Regions from separate parts of the Homo sapiens genome. Here region 2 is linked to region 1. Evidence: promoter capture Hi-C in 16 types of primary human blood cells and fetal thymus (Javierre and others, 2016). All regions are on one chromosome and are shown on one strand. The core of a region is centred on a gene start or on the middle of the fragment in contact, and the rest is flanking DNA. Distances in the headings are between cores, read along the strand shown. Region 1 holds the start of H1-2 (H1.2 linker histone, cluster member). Region 2 holds the start of TRS-GCT6-1 (tRNA-Ser (anticodon GCT) 6-1).

What was found. The method cuts DNA at HindIII sites, captures the fragments that hold promoters and counts their contacts. A CHiCAGO score of 5 or more calls a contact.
Region 2: a contact is called between a fragment that was not itself captured here and the fragment with the promoter of H1-2 in region 1, in 2 of 17 cell types (monocytes and neutrophils). The highest score is 6.4, in monocytes.

What each region holds. Positions count from the first base shown.
Region 1 is chr6:26,052,832-26,060,466 of GRCh38, reverse strand. H1-2 (H1.2 linker histone, cluster member) reads left to right here and starts at 3,997. Exons shown (of 1, transcript NM_005319.4): 1 at 3,997-4,727. The coding sequence starts at 4,039. The coding sequence ends at 4,680. RefSeq lists enhancers at 3,945-4,344, 4,435-4,484, 4,895-5,516, 6,137-6,758 and silencers at 4,975-5,044, 7,157-7,330. The HindIII fragment of the contact is 9,556 bases long and covers 271-7,635 here.
Region 2 is chr6:26,305,188-26,312,822 of GRCh38, reverse strand. TRS-GCT6-1 (tRNA-Ser (anticodon GCT) 6-1) reads left to right here and starts at 7,250; the gene lies at 7,250-7,333. TRQ-TTG3-1 (tRNA-Gln (anticodon TTG) 3-1) reads left to right here and starts at 1,556; the gene lies at 1,556-1,627. It overlaps TRQ-TTG3-2 (tRNA-Gln (anticodon TTG) 3-2), which reads left to right and starts at 1,005; the gene lies at 1,005-1,076. It overlaps TRS-TGA3-1 (tRNA-Ser (anticodon TGA) 3-1), which reads left to right and starts at 146; the gene lies at 146-227. RefSeq lists silencers at 88-327, 1,029-1,078, 1,509-1,558, 7,238-7,427, cis regulatory regions at 1,545-1,764, 2,853-2,967 and an enhancer at 7,508-7,635. The HindIII fragment of the contact is 1,384 bases long and covers 4,381-5,764 here.

The DNA of each region.
Region 1 (7,635 bases), core at 2,748-5,247:
CTAATTTTTGTATTTTTAGAAGAGACGGAATTTCACCATGTTGGTCAGGCTGGTCTTAAACTCCTGACCTCATGATCTGCCCACCTCAGCCTCCTAAAGTGCTGGGATTACAGGCGTGAGCCACCCCGCCCGGCCAGAGGTCATTCTAATAGACTTTTTTTTTGTTGTTGCTCACAGGCTTGTTCAATCTTATTTCAAAATTTGAGAAATACAGTTTCCATGGAACACCAACCAGATATCAGGTTGCTATGGAGTTGATAGTCAAAAGCTTTGTATCTTCCAGTTTTTCAGAATGGCTTCTAAAGGTTCTGATTCAGAGCTCTTAGGCGAAATTGAACAACCAAGTGTCAAAGTACAACATTCAGGAAGTTAAAAACATGACTGACATATATGTACTATATATAGTGAGCTTGTGTATGTGTCAATGAATGATTTAATTCATTAATGAAGGAGGAAGCAGAATCACAATTAGGTCAAAGGAAGATACGGGAGAATAAAATATGTATTTGGTCAGGGAAAGGATGTATACTGGAAGAGGAAGGGAAAATCAGATATAAAGTTGTTTAATGACTTATTAGGCAATACAATAATAACTTTTAGGGTCATTTTTTCTATATTAAGAATTCATTTCCATCTCTATGACAAAATCCTTATTAATTTATTAAACTTCTACAAGTGAATGTTTACTTTTAGATAGTCTGGACCCAATAAAATGTAAACATTAAGTCAGAGTTACTTTCACGTAGGACAGTGTTGTCCAATAAGGTACCACTAGCTACACGTGATCATTGACCATTTGGACTATAGCTAGACTGATTTAAAATGTTCTAAAAGTGTAAAATACACACCAGGTTCTGAAGATTTATCATTTAAAAAAGAATGTCAACTGTCTTTTTTTTTAGCTTATTTATTATATGTTGAAGTGATAATAGTTTAGATATATTAAGTTAAATAAAATATCTTAAAATTAATTTTACTTGTTTCTTTTCATTCTTTCAATGTGACCACTAGAAATCTGGAAAGTATTTATGTGATTCACATTCTATTTTACTGTCTAGTATTGCCTTACATCATCAGGTACCCCATAAGTAGGCTTTTTAGATAATTCTCTAATATAGCTTGGAAGGATATGGAGAAATATTTTTGCGTTGCTTTTAAGTTTTGCATAACTTTTTCAACACACTTTATAAAGGATCTAGAAAAGGGTTGGTTACATGTTTCTCTGTCTTCTGGCCTCCACCATGTTGCCAGGAGGTTGGGGACAAGATTCTGGGTGGCTGGATGTCCTAATGGCTTGAGGTCTGGACTTGAGATTTGCATATAAAGAGATGTGATTAGATTGAGTCGACTAGAAAAATCATATTAGAGAACTGAATCACAGCGATTAAATTTACATGTCGATTTATAAACCAGGACACCAATTTATAGTGAAAGAAGGTCCAGTTACCTGGTAATCAAGACGTTTCATAGCTATTTTCATGATGGATATACTTAGCTGAGTTTTAAATGAGAAGGGGGTTCATTGCACATAGAATAAGATCTAAGTGAAATGTTTATTTTATTTTTTTTTTTTTGACATGGAGTCTTGCTCTGTTGCCCAGGCTGGAGTGCAATGAGGCAATCTCGGCTTCTGGAGTGCAATGAGGCAATCTCGGCTTCTGGAGTGCAACGAGGCAATCTCGGCTCACTGCAACCTCCACCTCCCGGGTTCAAATGATTCTCCTGCCTCAGTTTCCTGAGTAGCTGGGATTAGAGTTGCCTGCCACCACGCCAGGCTAATTTTTGTATTTTTTTTAGTAGAGATGGGGTTTCACCATGCTGGCCAGGCTGGTCTCGAACTCCTGACCTCAGGCGATCTGCCCGCCTCAGCCTCCCAAAGTGCTAGGATTACAGGCGTGAGCCACCAAGCCTGGCCTAAGTGACATGTTCTTATATTGTTCCTTTCTTTCTTTTTTTTTCGACTGAGTCTCACCCTGTTGCACAGGCTGGAGTGCAGTGGCGTCATTTCGGCTCATTGCAACCTCTGCTTCCCGGGTTCAAGCGATTCCCTTGCCTCAGCCTCCTGAGTGCCACCACCCCCAGCTAATTTTTGTACTTTTAGTAGAGATGGTGTTTCACCATGTCGGCTAGGCTGATCTCAAACTCCTGGCCTCAGGTGATCCGCCCCCGAGTCTCCCAAAGTGCTAGGATTACAGGCGTGGGCCACGGGGCCCAGCCTTATATTATTTCTTTTACTACAATATATTAGTATGATGCAGGTGCTTCAATTGTTTATACACTTTCCATAATTTTGTATAATTCTTATACCCTGTCACTCTGAGGAATAGCCGGTCTAAGTGTTTTTCCACCACTGCTAATTCATCCATCACTAATCTCATTAGACTGTTAATTCCCAGAGGACATAAGCACACAAGCAGACAATGTTTACAAATGTTGGACAAATGTTATTTAATAAAACAATGGGGTCACCCTTAGTCTAAAAGATGTTTCACTTTTCATTTGTCATTGAACTCTTATTTGTAGGTTCCCTTTTGACTTTCCCACAATCTAAGGCTGTTCTCTTTAACACATATTTTCATGAAAACATATATTTGAGCAGAAATTGTTGGGGAGTTGTAATATTACCTTTGTCCCTAAATATGAATCTATAATTATATCAAATATATGGGCAGACAATTTACTTTGCCTTTAATCTCAAGAAAAAAATAGCAATTACTTGGGGTCGGAGAGTAAAATAAGAAGTAGTGAACCTTAAAGTAGCAAACTTTAGAACAGAATAGTTTCAGAGGGGATGAGAAGAGGTGATTTTTCAGCTCATCAACAACAGATCTTATAATAAATTACATGTTCTGGTACTTTTCTTGTCTTTCTGTGTTAAATTTTGCTATTTAAAAAAATAAATTTCAAATACATTGTTCATCTTAAAAGTCAAGAGTGTGTTTTATTAAAGTCAGTTGCTTTATTTGCAACTCAAAAGATATATTTGAGTTCCCAACTGGAGATTGTCCTATATGGTAACTTGCGTAAGGTATGGTTACTGAAAGTAACCTACAATTTTCATGGGCTGAAATTCATTTCTATATTGCAGCGTACAAAAATAAATAAATAAAAAATGCTTGTTTTCTTTGAAAACATATTATCTCAGTGCCTCTAACTGCCAAATCTATTGGCTTTTTTGCAGGCTTAAGGGCTCTCCCTTGTTCCTTTATGATCTCTATCTTGAGGGCCAGACCTCCTGCCTTACACAACTCAGAGGGGGACCTCAGAGCTCTTTAAAAAGAGCCCAATTTCTCGCCTGTAGAGAAGTGAAAAGGATGCCCCACCCCCATCTATGAAAAGAGGGATTTGATAGTTTCAATGTCTTCAAATCAAAGATTTAAGTCTGTAGCCCCCCACCACCCCGGACCCTAGCAAGGCTCATGAACCCCCTCCCATCCCGCCCTAATTGCTTTGGACTGGCCGTGGAATCCTTGTCCCAGTCCACAGTTCCTGTGCGACTGCACGAAGAATTCACAGAGGACCTGTGTTACTTCCCTTGTGAAGAAACAGAATTATCATGAAAATTTAGGTGGAAACCATTTCGCTTTTTTCTTCAAAAATAAGGGAAGCATGTGCCCAACCACCCCTGGGAAAAAGAACCTTCAGGGGCAAAGGAGCGAACAGGTAATTTATAAGAAAAACAGAAAGTGGTCTCTGACTGCCCCAGACTTCCTTCGGAGTTGGGGGAATTGGGGACGCCTGGACGCGTTGTTTTTGTGTTTGTGGAAAAAATAAATGAAGAGCATGAAGCCCGAGGCTTCTGAGATCCTTTCCTGACCAAACCCAAGTGATTTGGTGCGGGGAATTTTAATATTTTTCCCCTTTTGTGAGGTGGAACAAACACAACTTGGGAGCAGCGCAGCGGCTCAGAGCCTGCCAGCCAGGCGGGCGACCAGAGCACCAATCAGAGCGCGCCTGCGCTCTATATATACAGCGGCCCTGCCCAGGCGCTGCTTCATCGGCGCTTTGCCACTTGTACCCGAGTTTTTGATTCTCAACATGTCCGAGACTGCTCCTGCCGCTCCCGCTGCCGCGCCTCCTGCGGAGAAGGCCCCTGTAAAGAAGAAGGCGGCCAAAAAGGCTGGGGGTACGCCTCGTAAGGCGTCTGGTCCCCCGGTGTCAGAGCTCATCACCAAGGCTGTGGCCGCCTCTAAAGAGCGTAGCGGAGTTTCTCTGGCTGCTCTGAAAAAAGCGTTGGCTGCCGCCGGCTATGATGTGGAGAAAAACAACAGCCGTATCAAACTTGGTCTCAAGAGCCTGGTGAGCAAGGGCACTCTGGTGCAAACGAAAGGCACCGGTGCTTCTGGCTCCTTTAAACTCAACAAGAAGGCAGCCTCCGGGGAAGCCAAGCCCAAGGTTAAAAAGGCGGGCGGAACCAAACCTAAGAAGCCAGTTGGGGCAGCCAAGAAGCCCAAGAAGGCGGCTGGCGGCGCAACTCCGAAGAAGAGCGCTAAGAAAACACCGAAGAAAGCGAAGAAGCCGGCCGCGGCCACTGTAACCAAGAAAGTGGCTAAGAGCCCAAAGAAGGCCAAGGTTGCGAAGCCCAAGAAAGCTGCCAAAAGTGCTGCTAAGGCTGTGAAGCCCAAGGCCGCTAAGCCCAAGGTTGTCAAGCCTAAGAAGGCGGCGCCCAAGAAGAAATAGGCGAACGCCTACTTCTAAAACCCAAAAGGCTCTTTTCAGAGCCACCACTGATCTCAATAAAAGAGCTGGATAATTTCTTTACTATCTGCCTTTTCTTGTTCTGCCCTGTTACTTAAGGTTAGTCGTATGGGAGTTACTGAGGTATCAGACGAATTGGGTGACGGGGTTGGAGAGTGGCCGTGGTGAGGTTACAGCATTTAAACCTTTATTGCGGCTTCTAGGTCCCTGACCGGAGGCTTTTCTCGCTGGCGGATGGTTTTGGGATGGCAGTCCCGCCCCAGGCCTGTGAACGGCAGAAAAGACCGCAAAACAAGAGCCAGTTTCTTAGTCTAAAGGGATGTCCGGATTGGACTAAAAAATTTTCAAAAGTCCCGCCCTGCTCCCGGGTTGGTCCGTTCTTCTAGTACATGACTTTCATTCTGTATTTAATTGGATGGTGGAAGACGTTGCTTATTCTGTGTTTTTTGCTTTACTGTGACTTAAAAGTTTTGCCTCTTTTCTCTTTATATTAATGTCTGGGATTTCGGACGCTTTCCATGTTGTTGGTAGTCAAGTTGATGTCTCCTGGAGGTAGTGGCAACATCCAGCCCTGGGAGGAGAGTGCGTGCAGGTACCTTTGTCCTACATTCCTCTGCTGTTAATTTCTCATTCCTGTGGCAACGAAGGAATGCATTTAAAAAACAGCCACAACAGCGGCAATAGCCCTTCCTCCACCCAAGGCAATCGTGGACCTAGGGAGTTTTTTGTGCCACATAACATGTAGCCTTCCGCTAAACTGACAGGTTTGAGCGTATCGATTTTGAGCGTATCGAAAGCACAACTTTTAGCCAGCCATTTTGTCCTCGCATGACTACGGTTGCTTATCCTGTTTAGACAGACAGCAACATTTAAAAATCGAAGTTCCTTTAAACGTATTTTGTTTGGCAGTCCAAATGTTTCTATGCAGAAAACAGTATTTGTACTATTAACTATGAAGAGTGTATGGATAAATGGGAGACATTTCTAATAAAGGCCTTCGTTAATGGTTCCCTCTGTTTGACATCCATGGTGCTTCTGAATACAGAAAGCCTAGCGTCTTATATTCGCTTCTTTTAAAATCTGGTGGGCACATTTTGGTGAGACCTAAATTATGGGGACTGGGGCTTCTGGAGATAAGCTGCTCAATTATTCTACCATCTCCACAATGATTAATATAGTGAGTTGATTTGTTAGTGATAGTGACCACGGATTCATCCCAAGAAAGAGAAAGGGGAGGGAGGCAAGCAGAGAGACAGGAAGACAGAGGCAGGGAAGAAGGAGAAAACATTCTCCCATGGTTTAAGTAATTTTGTGTTGTTAATTTTACATTACAACACGGTTTAACATGGTGAACCCTCTATTTTGGTGTAAGGTTTAACATATGGACATATTTTTCCCAAGACCATTTATGAACTTTCATTTCTGCTTCCCCCTTCTTCCTCCCGTGCCACCCTCCACGCTCCTATCAATTTTGGCTGTTTTGTCATAGGCTAATACGCTATAATTTCATGGACAGTTGGACTGTCTTAGGTTTCTCAGGTTTCTATTTTGTTCCTTTAGTCATTCCCACAATTCTTAAGGTAGAATTGTATTGTTTTAAACATTGTGTTGTGTGCTATCCTCAATGCTGAGATGATTATGTGACAAATGGCAAGTGTTCAACTAATACCTAAATCTGTAGTATCTTATCAAGCCTAATGCTACTTCACAATGCCTACTCCATTCACCTCACTTTATCTCATTACTGGCATTCTGTCATCTCACATCATCACAAGTAAAACGGTAAGCTATTTTGAGAGAGATCACAGTCATATAATTTATATTTATATTTATTTATTTATTTATGAGACGGAGTTTCCCTCTGTCACCCAGGCTGGAGTGCTGTGGCACGTTCTCGGCTCACTGCAACCTCCGCCTCACGGGTTCAAGCGATTCTCCTGCCTCCGCCTCCCGAGTAGCTGAGATTACAGGGGCCTGCCACCATGCCCGGCTAATTTTTGTATTTTTAGTAGAGACGGGGTTTCACTAAGTTGGCCAGGCTGGTCTCGAACTCCTGACCTCAGGTTATCCGCCCACCTCATCCTGCCAAAGTGCTTAGATTACAGGCGTGAACCACCGTTCACAGACTCAAATCATTTTTATTACAGTATATTGTTATAATTGTTGTTTTATTATCAGTTATTGCTAATCTCTTACAGTGCCTGATTTATAAATTAAATTCATCATTGCCATGTGTATATAGAAAAAAACAGTGTATATACGGTTCAGTACTATCTGTGGTTTCAGGCATCCACTGGGGGTGCAGTTTATTAAACATGCATTTACATTAGTCTCCCCTTTGGGAGACTAATTAACTGAGATGTTGTAACGTGACTTTAATAGCAGATAGAGCTAATTTTCTCTCATTACTCTTCTTTTTCAGAATTTTCCTGGTTATTCCATTTTTTATTTTTCCATATGTATATTAAGATCTCTTCCACCTCCTCCTGTTTCTCCATCTCAACATCAAACAATTAAAAAAAAAAAAAAGGCTGGGCGCGGTGGCTCACGCCTATAATCCCAGCTCTTTGGGAGGCCTAGGCGGGTGGATCACGAGGTCAGGAGTTCAAGACCAGCCTCGCCAAGATGGTGAAATCCCGTCTCTACTAAAAGTATAAAAATTAGCCAACCATGGTGGCAGGCGCCTGTAATCCCGGCTACTCGGGAGGCTGAGGCAGAGAATTGCTTGAACCTGGGAGGCGGAGGTTGCAGTGAGGCGAGACCTTGCACTCCAGCCTGGGTGACACAGCGAGACTCCGTCATAAAAAAAAAAAGCCGGAAGCAGTGGCTCACGCCTGTAATTCCAGCACTTTGGGAGGCTGAGTCAGGCAGATTACCTGAGGTCAGGAGTTCAGGACCAGCCTGGCCATGAAAATACAGCCTGGCCATGAAAACACA
Region 2 (7,635 bases), core at 3,823-6,322, 250 kb before region 1:
TCTTTAAAATTTTGATTTTGTTTTTTAACCAGGATGAGAGACATTCCAGAGTTGTTACCTTGTCAAAATAAACAAATTTAAAGATGTCTGTGAAAAGAAACATATATTCCTCATGGGAATATATCCAGGTTGTTGAAGGAGGTACGTAGTCGTGGCCGAGTGGTTAAGGCGATGGACTTGAAATCCATTGGGGTCTCCCCGCGCAGGTTCGAATCCTGCCGACTACGGCGTGCTTTTTTTACTCTCGGGTAGAGGAAATCCGGTGCACTACCTGTGCAATCACACAGAATAACATGGAGTAGTACTTTTTATTTTCCTGTTATTATCTTTCTCCATAAAAGTGGAACCAGATAATTTTAGTTCTTTTGTGTAACAAGACTTAGAGATTTTTTGAAGTGTTACATTGGAAAGCACTTGAAAACACAAGTAATTTCTGACACTGCTATAAAAATGATGGAAAAACGCTCAAGTTGTTTTGCCTTTCAGTCTTCTTGAAATGCTGTCTCCCTATCTGAAATCCAGCTCACGTCTGACTTCCAAAACCGTGCTTGCCTTTAACTTATGGAATAAATATCTCAAACAGATCCTTTCTGGTTCCCCTCGTGTCATCCTACTTTCAGAGGCCGGAATTGCAGAGGAAACACCAGATAGAGAATCTCCAAAACTGTTGCTAAGATGTTTTAAGAGATGTCTAAGTGTTGATATTTTCTTTTATAAACCCTTACGTAGAAAAAAGTATCGTGACCTAAAATTTCAGCAAATGCGAAGTTCTGATTAATCAAGGAACGCTCCTATTCATAATCTCCGTGGGCAGATCAGAACAAGTTTTTGGAAAGGTGAGTTCTGTTCTTGCTTTCTGCCTGCTGGAGCAGTTTTGTTACTTTCTCGGAATCTGGGACTATGCACCTATTTTGAGAGGCCAAAGTAAACAGCACTCTCAATAGACCAATTCCACGTACTACATTCATGTTATCAAAAATATGTCAGGAGATTACTGTGTTGTTGGCCCCATGGTGTAATGGTTAGCACTCTGGACTTTGAATCCAGCGATCCGAGTTCAAATCTCGGTGGGACCTACCAAACTTTTAGTGCTCTTTCTTTCTCTCAAATTACCATTGTACCCAGAGGAGCGTACACCTGATCACTTAAGCACCTTAACATCCCATCCCAGTCGGCAGCACGATGCTTTCCTGCAGAACAGCATCCTCTAATCTTTCACCTGGAATTTCACATCTGTTCTCTCTTGCCCCTCCTCTCTTGTTGGATGCGAGTTCCTCGGATTTAAATTATCATACGCAAGTTTAAGGATACGTCTTTCACCTACCAGACCTCAGTTCTTTCCTTTTTTGAACAATACTCAAACGGGTTCAAGTTTTTTCAGTTTCTAAGACGGACTTGGTCCAGATAGGTTTGTAGTGCATGTGAGTCTCTTGGAGCTTCTGCTACATGGGATGCAGATAGTATTAATTTAATAAATATTAATAGAATACTGCATCGAATAGACATGCTCTGTAATCAGTATTTTTATAAATTCATGAAATTGGTGGCGGAAGGCGGCCCCATGGTGTAATGGTTAGCACTCTGGACTTTGAATCCAGCGATCCGAGTTCAAATCTCGGTGGGACCTGTCCTGCTTTTTGTGACCCATCCTTCGTTCGTCTCTTAAATCATCAACACACAGCGATCTGTGGATTTACTTTCTCATTCACGGTTTCTTCTTCGGATTAGCAAGTGTCATGTAACTCCTGACTGTCATTTCTAGCTTCTGAGTAGTATCATGTCCTTGTACATTCTTGGTCTTTTCTCTTAGCATCCACACTTCCCTGAGTTCCCAAAGGCAGCCAGGGTGTTATTTGAGTGCTCAGGGTGCTTAATGGTTTATGTGTCAGAGGTCCCTCCCGCGAATGTTTTCTTCTTTGGAAGCCCCTCAAAATGCAAGGATTTACATAAGAATTATAGTAGCAAGTGCCCCATGTAAGGGTCCCATAGTATATCGGTTAGCACTCGGGATGCTGAATCCAGGAATTTGAGTCCAAATCTCTTTGGGATTTTAGCAACATCTTGGTCAATGTTCCTCTGTGGTTCTCTTAAATCATTAGCCCACCTTCGAGGTGTACCCACTTGGCTGCAAGCGCTGCCAATCATCATGGCACTCTGTCCTAGAGAAAACTGTCTCTATCTACTGACCTCTGAAATTTTAGCCCTACTCCTATTTTACTTGATGTCTCTTTTTGCCTTTTTGCCCAGAGTTTCTCAGATTCTGGTAAGTTAGAATCTTGGCCCCAGTGATTAAGAGTTTGTTTTACAGCCCCCAATCTCAGTTTCTTCCTTTTCTAGAGCCTATTTAAAGCGTCCCATCTGCTTCTAAGCACTAACACTGTCCTTAAAATGTTTGGACTGCACAGCACTGCAGTTGTACACATCTTAGAGCCTCTGCCGTTTGTACTCAGTTGGGGCGCCATCCAAACTCCTTAAGCTAATGCATTGTCCACATTATTTGAAAGATTAGCTGGTATGTTAAAAGTACACATCAGTCTTTCAGTAGGGATTCAATTTCCATGTCCTGGTGACTTAATGGCTAGCACCTAGGCTTCAAATTTCAGTGGACCTGTCTCAGTTTTGGTGACCTTGCTCTTGAGTTTACCCAAATGGAGAAGCACACTTGGGCATGTATAGATAGTCTCACATATTTGCACTTCTTTTCTGGAGCAACATCCCGCTTCTTGCTCTTTTCTCTGGCTACTGAAAGTTGTCCACTGCCCATCACCCTCATGTATCCTAGAAGCTCTTCTTTTGAAAGCTTTGCTTTGCTTTGCTGGAGCCTGAAGTCAGTTAGACCACTGTAAGTTAATCATCTGCTGGGATGAGTAAAGGTTCATGTGTCAGAGGCCCCACCTATGACTTTTTTCTTCTTCAGAGCTCACTCCGAATGCTCTCTATGCTATCTCTGGACTCGGGCATGAATATGTGCAAACCACAAATTGAGTCATCTGAGAACCTGCATTTTTCTCCCTATGAGAAGCTATTAGTGTTCCTTACATTGAATCTATGCCCATTTTAAAGGTTAACTGACCAGATGCAATAGTATACAAGTCTTCCCTAGAACCTTTGTTATACAAAGATACCATGGTATAACGGTTAACACTCTGGACTCCAAATACAGAAATCCCAACTGTTGGTGGGACTCTAAATTCCTTCTGTTGACTCTCTCTACAGTTCAAAACATATCCTCCAGGGCTCTCAATGACAACAAAAGTGAGCTCCATGAACTCCTCTGGCCTCTAAAAATTGTTCCAGAAAAAAGCCCTGTAGACTTCTTTCTGCCTGTTTAGCCCTATTCATGGTACTATCTTAGTGGCTTTTTATTAGCTTCCTATTGCTTACCACAAATTTGGTGGTTTAAGACAATATGAATTTATTTTTTGTTATTTATTTATTTGTTTTTGAGACAGAGTCTTGCTCTGTCGCCCAGGCTGGAGTGCAATGGCACAATCTCATCTCACTGCAACCTCCACCTCCCGGGTTCAAGACATTCTCCTGCCTCAGCCTCCTGAGTAGCTGGGATTACAGGCACCCGCCACAAAGCCCGGCTAATTTTTTGTACTTTTAGTAGGGACGGGGTTTCACTATGTTGGCCAGGCTTGTCTCGACCTCCTGACCTTGATCTGACCGCCTCAACCTCCCAAAGTGCTGGGGTTACAGGCGTGAGCCACCGCATCCGGCCTATTTATTTTTTAAAATAGGGTCTTACACTATCACTCAGGCTGGACTGTAGTGGCACAATCATAGCTCATTGCAGCCTCAAACTCCTGGGTTCAAGTAATCGTTCCCTGTCAGCCTCCCAAGTAGCTAGGACTGCAGGTGCACACCACCATCCCTGGCTAAGACAACGTGAATTAAATGTTTTTTTGCAGTTTTGGATATCAGAAGTCTACAATAAAAGTATTAGCAGGGCTGTGTATCTTCTGGAGACATCATGAGATAATTCATTTTCCTGGCGTTTTCAGCTTCTAGTGGCCCCTTCCTTGCATCACTTCTTGCTTCTGTAGTCACATTTTCTTTTCCTGACTCTGAACCTCCTGCCTTCCTTTTATAGGACCCTCTTGATTACATTGGACCCACTTAGATAATCCAAGATAATCTCCCCATCTCAAAATCTTCAATGAAATCCCATCTGCAAAATTCCTTTGACCACTTAAGGTAACATAAGGTAACTTATTCACAGGTTCTGGTGATTGGTTGTGGACCTATTTTGGGGGTCATTATTTAGCCTACCATACCCTTTATTAATAAATAGCAGGCATTTGTTAATGCTCTTTAGATTTAATCTATTGGTCATGGCTTTTTTAAAAAAGATAATGTATAGATTTACACCAAGCTTATACACAAGTCTTTCAATAGGAGAATCTTATGGAAAGGGTCTATGATGTAATGATTAGCATCTGAACTCAGACTTGGCAAATTTATGGCAATGATGTCTTGTATTTTTACATTCTCAACTATACTCCCTTTCAGCCATAGGATCCACTGCTCTCTGGCTGATCAGGCCTTCCTGCATGTATTAGTTATCTGTTGTATAACAAATTGCACCCAAATTGGCAGCTTAAAACAACAGACACATATCTCACATGAGATATCATGAAAGTAATATCCTATCACATTTTTTATATTCTGTAGGTTAGGAGCAGGTCACTAGATCCAGCCAACATTCAAAGGGAGGAGTTTACACAGGAAGTGTGGCCACCACACTGTTAAACACTGTAAAGACCTCAGGGCAGAATAAGCCCTAATTGGAGCTGGTCTAATGCTATGACTGATATTTTGCAGACACCTTCTTTTGCTTGGTCAGGAAGTGCTGTATTGGGAGCAATTCCTGGTACCTTTTGGATTGGGAAAATTATCTCTTGCCTCACCTTTTTAAAACTAGTTTTCCATTGTGTATCTTCCTTTATGATCAAGCCAGTATTGAAGAGCTTGACTGCTACTCTCTTTTAATATCATGACTGAACAAGTGAATTAGAATCTATAGGGATAATGCCCTGACATGAATCCTTCTCAAAAGTTCCCTATGGATTCAAATGTGCAGCATGGAAAACCACTGAGCTAATTTTCCCCTGACCACCCTATTTAACTTGCCACCACTCCTATGCATATACCATCCTCTGACATACTGTGTATTTTGCTTTTTTTTTTTTGGTGAGACAAGGTCTCACTTTGCCATCCAGGCTGGAGTGCAGTGGTGCAATCTTGGCTCACTGAACTTCGACCTCCTGGGTTCAAGCGATCCTCCCTCCTCAGCCTCCTGAGTAGCTGGGACTACAGATGTGCACCGCCACGCCCAGCTAATTTTGGTATTTTTTGTAGAGATGAGGTTTCACCATGTTGCCTAGGCTGGTCTCAAACTCCTGAGTTCAAGGAATCTGCCTGCCTTGGCTTTCCAAAGTGCTATGATTATAGGTGTGAGCCACTGTGCTTGGCCTATATTTTGCTTTATAAGTTGTTTATTGCTTATTTCTACATAATTAGGTTTCACCAGGGCAGGGAATTTTGTGTGTGGCATATACATTTGTTCTTAGAACAATGCCTGGAACATACGCAATGCTCAATAAATATTCATCAAAACATTGAATGAATCAAAGAACTAATGAACCCTTCAGGTCCAGGTTTGTTTATCATGCTTTATAATTTCTAATCCAAACACAATCAAGACCAAGCAATAGTTTTTCTTTTCAGAACACTTTAGAATTTGTTGCTAACTGAAGCTTTAAAAAAATGAAAATTCGTACATTTCCTGGCCTGCTATGTTTTGATGGTGATTTGATACCTAATATGTCTGATATTTGTTAGGTAATTCCTTGGTAACTCCCTAGGGGATACAGTTTGAATCTTGATCATATTCTTAATTGCTTTGCTTTGCTTTGCTTTGCTTTTGAGACAGGGTCTTACTCTGTCACTCTGTTACCCAGGCTGGAGTGCAGTAGTGTGATTATGGCTTGATGCAGCCTCGCCCTCCCAGGCTCAGCTGATCCTCTCAACACAGCCTTCCAAGTAGCTGGGACTACAGGCACCAGCCACCACACTCGGTTAATTTTTTGTATATTTTGTGGAGTCGGGGTTTCGTCATGTTGCCTAAGCGATCCTCCAGCCTTGGCCTCCCAAAGTGCTGGGATTACAGGTGTGAGCCACTGTGCCCGGCCTTATTTTTTTAATGCTACATCATGTCAAAACACACACATACACAATATTATTGTTTTTGTAATTTTATTGGGTATAGGTGAGAAAACAGCCCCTGGTATCCAGGAACTGGTCTGACCGTATTCACTAGGCCTGCATATTGTCAGGAATCGGCCAGGCAGTCACTGCTAAGTCATGGGGTTCTTCTGTTTTGCCTAATTTCACAGAACATTAGCATCAGACTGACTTCTCTGATTGTGATGAAATGAGTCAGAAACAACCAAAGAAAGGTTGGACATGGTGGCTCATGCCTGTAATCCCAGTACTTTGGGTAAACCAAGGTGGGTGGATTGCTTGAGCCTAGGAGTTTGAGGCTAGCCTGTGCAACAGAGTGACATAGTGAGACCCTGTCTCTATAAAAATAAATTTATTTTTTTAATTTAGAATTTAAATGAAATACAAACAGATAATAAAAATGACAACACTAAGTATCATTTTCATCACATTTCTTTGTGCAAAATAAGCAAAAACAAAACAAAAATCCCTCAGATGGCCCCACGATTCTTTAAGATACAGTCCAAACTCTAGGGTCTGACACTCAGAACCAATCACAATTTGACTGTAACCCATCACTTCAACACTTTACCAGTCACCCACTTGGGCTTCTAGGAGAGACAATGGTTATTTCTCAGATGCGTTAGTGCCATCATATGGCAGGCATCCCTCTGGGAATCCTACCAGGGAGTGTCCAGGAATGCAACAACAGACATACCTGGTTTAATGATGGTGTTCATATACATGACCTAAGAAAAAAGACAAAATCCAATTTGATTTAAAAAACAGGAGCAGTCACTAATTCGTTTTTCCTTTTTAATTTCTCTTATTTTTCCCTTAGAAAGTGTACTTTGTCATCTTTATTAGGGTCTATTCCTCCCTCCCAGTCTCCTCTTTAGTTTTTCTTCCTTTATGAGAGTAAGAGGGCCATTTATCCATTATTTCCGTCACTGAAAACATTTAACAAAAGAATAGGAATTGCCAAATGAAACTGTTGAGAAGAGAAACATTACACATATCAGGAGAGGCCTGGCCGAGTGGTTAAGGCGATGGACTGCTAATCCATTGTGCTCTGCACGCGTGGGTTCGAATCCCATCCTCGTCGCTCGGCTTTCCCTGCTAACTGGGCTTTTTTAAAGGTTTCCCCTCAGTAAGGTATCGTCTGCTATACCTCCCCGTTTGCTCACTGAGAATTAGGTGTTTTTAGCTCCCTTTAAGAGAGGTATTCTTCAGTATGTATTAGCACACTAACGTGTGCTGGCACTAACAACCTTCTGTTGGTAACATGATTACTGATTCTATTTTATAAAGGTCCGAAAAATTACAGTATTTTAGCTCCGCTCCCTCCGCGCAGGCAGAGGTGTATCCACCGCTGCTCCAGATCCGCAAGACTCTTGTAGTTGAAAA